Linked DNA regions of Homo sapiens: region 2 is linked to region 1. The links are contacts of gene promoters, found by promoter capture Hi-C in human tissues and cell types (Jung and others, 2019). All regions are on one chromosome and are shown on one strand. Each heading gives the region's core, a stretch centred on a gene start or on the middle of the fragment in contact. The rest is flanking DNA. Distances are from core to core; before and after follow the strand shown. Region 1 holds the start of RD3L (RD3 like). Region 2 has its middle 14 kb from the start of PPP1R13B-DT.

Evidence for each region. The method cuts DNA at HindIII sites, captures the fragments that hold promoters and counts their contacts. A contact is called where the count stands out against the background at its distance.
Region 2: a fragment that was not itself captured here is called in contact with the fragment with the promoter of RD3L in region 1 in 5 of the 25 tissues and cell types used here (H1 embryonic stem cells, dorsolateral prefrontal cortex, liver and 2 more).

What each region holds. Positions count from the first base shown.
Region 1 is chr14:103,940,648-103,944,054 of GRCh38, forward strand. RD3L (RD3 like) reads right to left here and starts at 1,882. Exons shown (of 3, transcript NM_001257268.2): 1 at 1,445-1,882; 2 at 750-1,055; 3 at 1-456. The coding sequence starts at 1,048. The coding sequence ends at 159. All of the region lies in intron 1 of TDRD9 (tudor domain containing 9), which reads left to right. The HindIII fragment of the contact is 5,559 bases long and covers 1-3,407 here.
Region 2 is chr14:103,859,738-103,863,144 of GRCh38, forward strand. No RefSeq gene overlaps it. Among named protein-coding and RNA genes, the nearest start is that of PPP1R13B-DT, 14 kb to the left of the region's middle. The HindIII fragment of the contact is 8,038 bases long and covers 1-3,407 here.

The DNA of each region.
Region 1 (3,407 bases), core at 632-3,131:
TTAGAGTGGTTAAAAAAAGAACACTATTTAAAACATAGGCTACATCCACAGGATACTGACCTTGTAACAAAGAAAAACTTGAAGTCACATCACTTTTTCTTATTCTTAATATTAGGAGTTCTAAGGTGTTCATAAAAACCCCTCTAGTTGTAAGTAACTTAACTAGATGGGTGATAATATGGTAGGTTCCATATTCTGTGTGAGAACACTGGGAACCTGTCCTTTGTGTTTTTGTCTACGTAACTGGAAATGGTGGGTATTTCATCTTTGTCTGCCCTCTTGGAGCTGTCACCTTGGATCACAGAAGGAGCAGAGCAGTCCATGCTCCCTGAGTCCTCCAGGTCCTCTTGCTCACTCCCTCTGTCAGAGCTGCTTAGGAAGTCTTTCAGAACTTGCTTGAAGATGTAGACTATTTCCCATGGCAGTACATCATTTTCTGCCAAAACTTCTCGAAATCTAGAGGGGAAATGGTAATGAATATTCAGTTTAGAACATTTTTTGTTATATCTCTTTATCTCCAAAATACAGCTTGAATAATGTATACAAGTTACCCACCTTTTGAGTATTTTGCATGTTGTTTTAAAATTATGCTTCTAGTAAAGAAATTTTAAATGTAATTTAAAACAATTGCTCACCAGACATCTACACAGTTAAAGAATTTACATGATAGAATACAGTTTCTAGTCAAAATATATGAGGAACTTGGACTTAGCAGTAGCAGGAATCATAAGAGAACATAGTATTTTTACCTGCTGAGAATAGTTCCAGTTTGGCAAGGTTGAACTTGTGAGCAAAGAACTTCAAGTTGTCTTTGTTCAGTCACTGGGATAGTTGTGTGGGGATTCTGGTAGTTTCTGAGCCAGTTGTAATCCACACCTGTTTTTTTCACTTTTTGTTCATTTTCGATTTCTTGTATTAATCTCTCTCGCTCCTTTAGGTGCCATTTTAATTCCCGAAGCAGAGTCTTTGTCACTATGTCTGAGCCAGGATAGTGTGTGGGTTTGTAGGAATCGTTTTTGGGCCATTTCATCCAGCCAAAAAGTGGCATTTTTAGCCTATGGAAATATTTTCACTTGTTTATTTGCTCAAAATGTTATGTTCTTCTGAGCAAATATTTGTTTCTTTACAATAAATTTGCCCGAAAAGTGCACGATTTTTTTTCACATTTAGCTATGCAGGTCAAAATAAGATTAGAACATGGATTAACGTCTTAATTTTTAACTAGGTCAGTGGCAGAAACCAAGCTTTGAAAATGCTTTTATGTAGCTTAGCAGAAATTAGATATACAAAGTCAGAGATAACATATAGACTGAATGATATCCGAAAATAACACTAACACTTGCTGTGAAAAGTTCTTAAGAGACTTAAAATATTAATGTCGGGGCAAGTGCTGCCTACAGATACTTTTGATTTATGTTTTGGACAGAAAAGGTTTAAAGCTTACCTGTTAAGTTGATGGGCTGATGTGATGTTGCCAAAGAGTTGACTGAAGTTGGTGACGAAGCTGTGTTTCACTGGGACGTATCTTGCTCTCCTAGGTGTGTCCTCTGTAGAAGGAATGCGCCACCTTATTTACCCACCGAAACTGTATTTGAAATAAATAACTTTCTGTGTTAGGAATGAGGCTGTGATGTCTTCATTTGGAGAGAATGCTCATTAATTCACCTTGTAAGTAAGCTAGAAGAAATGACAAAAATAACTGACTATTTAATCTTCACAAGTTATATAATGGTCTGCCTTTTCAATGTAGCTCAGTCTATTTGAAAAAAATGCCAGCAGCTATAGATGCTGGTCCTAAATGCATTCCGACATGTCTTTGGTAGTGAAACGAAGAATGGTCGTCTAAAGCACCATAGATGCGCTCCGAGCTAGAGTGAAGACTGTCGCGTGATGTGATGCTTTGCTGTGCATAGCTGTAGGTCACAGTTTAGTGCTGTATTTTTATGCCTGTAGAGCTCTAAAAATAGCCACGTTGCTTTTATTCTTCAGCTTAACTTTCAGGCCATTTGGAAGCCGGGTCACTGTCCCCTCTAGTGAAAACAGGAAAAATAGATTAGACTTGACTATTTGCAAAACATACATTCTGAGAAAACTCATTGTAATTGAGTGAAATAGGTAAAGAATGCTGATGTGAATTATAATTGTGAAATATTTAGCAAATGTTACATTTTGTATTCATTTTGGTTTTTTCAAAATAGTTAAATTTGTATATTTAAGCAAGTTGAAATGCTAGGGGACATAATAAACAGCTAGATAACTTTAAAATATACTTTATAATCTCTGAAAATATGGTAATAAGGCAGTAATTGGTTGTCAGGGAAAAATAGAGGCATAAGAACATACAAAATTCTAAACAAAATCTTATAATTCATCGTAGAAAAATCATTTTCGTGTTTTTTTTTTGGAGCTGAGGATGAAAAACTTATATTTACTATTTAGGTGCATATTGGTTTGTAATGGTCATTATTGTGCTATTTCTTTTTTCTTTCTTTCTTTTTTTTGAGACAGAGTCACGTTGTGTCACCCAGGCTGTAGTGCAGTGGCATGATCACGGCTCACTGTAGCCTCGACCTCCTGGGCTCAAGTGATCCTCCCACCTCAGCCCCCTGAATAGCCAGGACCATAGGTGCATGCCACCACAGGTGCATGCTACGGCATGCCTGGCTAGTTTAAAAAAATATATACACACGCACATATGTACATACATATATGTTTTATATATGTACATATGTGTATGTATTTTATATATGTACATATATGTATATATACACATAAGTATATATACGCATATGTATATGTATTATATATGTATATATAAATATACACACATATATAATACACACATATATACACACACACATACATTTCTTTTTTTTTTTTTTTTGTAGAAATAAGGTCTCCCTGTGTTGCCCAGGCTGGTCCGTAAACTGGGCTCAAGTAATCCACCTGCCTCAGCCTCCCAAAGTGCTGGGATTACAGGCATGAGCCACTGCGCTGGCCTGTGCTAATTTCCTATGCAAGTGTTTGTCTTTTGCTAAAGAGTAGATAGTATAAAAGGTCTTTTACTCCCCAGTTCTCTGTGAAACGACTGCATAGTGGTTTTCCCTTTTATAGTATTTGTTTCTTCTGTTGCTTTTCCTTTCAAGTGAGCCATGAAGAGTAGACGTTGTTTACATCAGACTTGCATGTCATGCATGACCCAGAGTGACGTGTGTGGCCACCCTACAGCTCCTGTTGCTTAGATGTTAGAAAAAGCCAGATGTCAGGACTGATTATTGTCAACTGGAAGGTTTTCACATGACATTGCATATACTGTTAGGAGAAGGAAAGGAGTAAAGTTTATGATGACAGAAGTGTCCTACCAAATTTTATACTAAAATTACAGCGAATCTTGCCGCATACTCCTT
Region 2 (3,407 bases), core at 622-3,121, 81 kb before region 1:
GACAACTCCTTGGCTCCCTCACAGGTAACTAAGGGGTGGAGAGTGTTGCCAGTTCTGCCCAGTGAAGCTGCTGGCAAACCATTCCCAGCTCAGACCATCCCTGCTCGCTCCCTTGCCAGTGTCTAGCCTCTGTGCTCCCTCGGCACCCACCTCCCTGCAGTCCCCTGGGTGGGCACCCAACGGCCTGCCTCCGTCCAACTCTCGGTCCGAATTCTCTGTTCCCTGGCCCACCTGGAACTCTCCGACCATCTGTGCTCCCTGTCACAGGGGCTCCTGGTGGGAGGAAGTTGAGCCTGGGGAGAAGCGACTCGGCTGGCACGCTGGCTTCCAGCCCTGCCCTGTCCTTCCCGCCGGCCAGCTGCTTCCAGGTCAACCTTGGGTCCCACTCCTGAGGACAATGTCCCTTCACTGTCCCAAGCAGGAGCGCTGATTCCGTCATCTGTCATGTACGAAAACCCCTTCTTGAAGCTTCTCAGATGCCCCTGCCTTTCCTGGCCAGGGGTTTCTCTCCTAGTCCGTCTGCTGTGGTCTTTCTAGAGGGCCGAATCAAGGCCAGTTCTGAGTGCTCCTTAATTTATTTTTATGTTGAAATTTAATTTTGATTTTCAAAATTGTCATTGCATCATTCCCAAGTGTTTCAAAGGATTTTATCTCACTTGCCGGTCGCTATAATCCTGTGAAGGAAATACCATTTCTCCTTCATTACAGATGAGGATATGGAGGCTTTCCGGGTCTTTCAGCCTCTGAGTGGGAGAGCCAAGATTCAAATCCAGCTCTTCTGACTCTAAATCCTGCACTCTCTACAATGTATACACTTTGCATTGTTTTATGAGCTCAGGATCCATTTGGCAGTAACTACTTGGATATTTTGTAGCAAGAAGTTAGCAAAATGTGCTTTCTTTTCTTTCTTTCTTTTTTTTTTTTTTTTGGAGATGGAGTCTCGCTGTTGCCCAGGCTGGAGTGCAGTGGCGCAATCTTGGCTGGATCTCAGCTCACTGCAGGCTCCGCCCCCTGGGTTCACGCCATTCTCCTGCCTCAGCCTCCTGAGCAGCTGGGACTACAGGCGCCCGCCACCTCGCCCGGCTAATTTTTTGTATTTTTAGTAGAGACGGGGTTTCACCATGTTAGCCAGGATGGTCTCGATCTCCTGACCTCGTGATCTGCCCGCCTCGGCCTCCCAAAGTGCTGGGATTACAGGCGTGAGCCACCGCGCCCGGCCCAAAATGTGCTTTCTTTCACACAGTACCTATGAGCTTGGACTGTGGAGCTAGAGAACATCTGCCACTTAGTTTCGGCTGTGTAATTTTGGGCCAGTTACATAACGTTTCTGTGCCTTAGTTTGCTCACCTGTAGATGGGGATAATAACAGTGCCTCCCTCAAGGATTATTATTATTATTATTATTATTATTATTATTATTATTATTATTTTTGAGACAGAGTCTTGCTCTGTCACCTAGGCTGGAGTGCAGTGGTAAGATCTCGGCTCACTGCAACCTCCACCTCTCGGGTTCAAGCAATTCTCCTGCCTCAGCCTCCCAAGTAGCTGGGACTACAAGCGTGCACCACCATGCCCAGCTAATTTTTGTATTTTTAGTAGAGACGAAGTTTCACCATGTTGGCCAGGCTGGTCTCAAACACCTGACCTTAGGTGATCCACCCGCCTTGGCCTCGCAAAGTGCTGGGATTACAGTAGTGAGCCACAGCGCCCAGCCTCCCTCAAGGATTTTTGTCAGTTACATGAAACAATGTGTGCATCACATGGTGAACACCACATCGGCATTTGCTGTGTCCCTGCACTGGGTGAGACGCTGCTGCCTGCTAGGGAGGGCCCCATCTCATGGCCAGCCAGCTCATCTGCTGATCTGCCTTGAGTGAGAAGGCTGCCGACCTGACCTTGAAACACTCCCACCAGCTCAACAGCAGCATCTTCTCACTGGCTCACCCACACCAGCCTTCCCCACATAGACATGAGTACAGAGGGGAACAGGGTGATCTGTCCTTTTTGCCAACACCAGAGAAGGCAGCTGGCAGTGGCATTTGGAGATAAGGTGGCTGACTGCTGCAATTGGTGCTGGGGTGCCTGAGATGGTTCTGAAAAGTTCAGGAAACACCTCTCAAGTGAAGTAGGAGGACATGGTGCATACCTCCCAGAAACGCTGAAAGGAAGTTGCTGGCCCCTTAGCCTGCCCGGAGCCAGGGGTCTGCTCAGCTGAGCGAGGTCTGAAGAGCACAGGCAAGGCCAGGAGGGGCTTTGCTGAAGGATGTTGGTCTTGAAAGACGGGTCCAGCTGGGGCCAGGGGGGAATTTACACACACACACACACCCCCACATACATGCACATACCGGCGGATGTCTTGAGGCCAGGAGTTTGAGATCAGGCTGGCCAACATGGTGAAACCCCATCCCTACTAAAAATAGACAAATTAGCGAGGTGTGGTGGCACGCACCTGTAATCCCAGCTACTCGGGAGGCTGGGGCACAAGAATTGATTTAACCTGGGAGGTGGAGATTGAAGTAAGCCTAGATCATGCCACTGCACTCCAGCCTGGAAAACAGAACGAGACTCTGTCTCCAAAAAAATCATCATCATAATAATAATCCATGTACTTGTGTCACCAGTAGAGGGTCTTGACTGCAAGTTTTCCAGGTTCTTGGCGTTTTGAACAAAGAATTGGACAAAATGCCCAGCAACGCAAAGAAAGAATGAAGCAATGAAAGAACGAAAGCAGGGATTTACTGAAAATGAAAGTACACTCCACAGTGTGGAAGCAGCTGGAGCAGCTCAAGAGCCCGGATACAGAATCTTCTCGGGTTCAAATACCCACTACAGGTTTCCTATTGGCCACTTGGTAGTCACCTTATGTAAATGAAGCAGTGGCCCACAATTGGTTGCGGAAAGCAGTCAATCAGAGGCTGAAGTGAAGTTACAAAGGTCACACTCCTGTGCAAACATCTGATTGGCTATAGAAAGTGACCAATCAGAGGCTAAAGTTACAAAGTTATACTCCTGTGCAAATGAAGACTCGGTCACCATTCAGTCTGATTGGTTGCCAACAGCCAATTTCCCATCTGCCATGAAGAAAAGGTGTGGGTTCAAGCCAGGTGCAGTGGCTCACGCTTGTAATCCCAGCACTTTAGGAAACTGAGGAGAGCGGATCACTTGAGGTCAGAAGTTCAGGACCAGCCTGGCCAACATGGCGAAACCCCATCTCTACTAAAAATACAAAAAAATTAGTTGGGCGTGGTGGTGGCACCTGCCTGTGGTCCCAGCTACTCGGGAGGCTGAGGCAGGAGAATCGCTTGGACTTGGGAGGCAGAGGTTGCAGTGAGCCAAGATCATGCCACTGGCACTCCAGCCTCGACCACAGAGACCCTGTCTCCAAAAAAAAAAAAAAAAAAAGGAGGT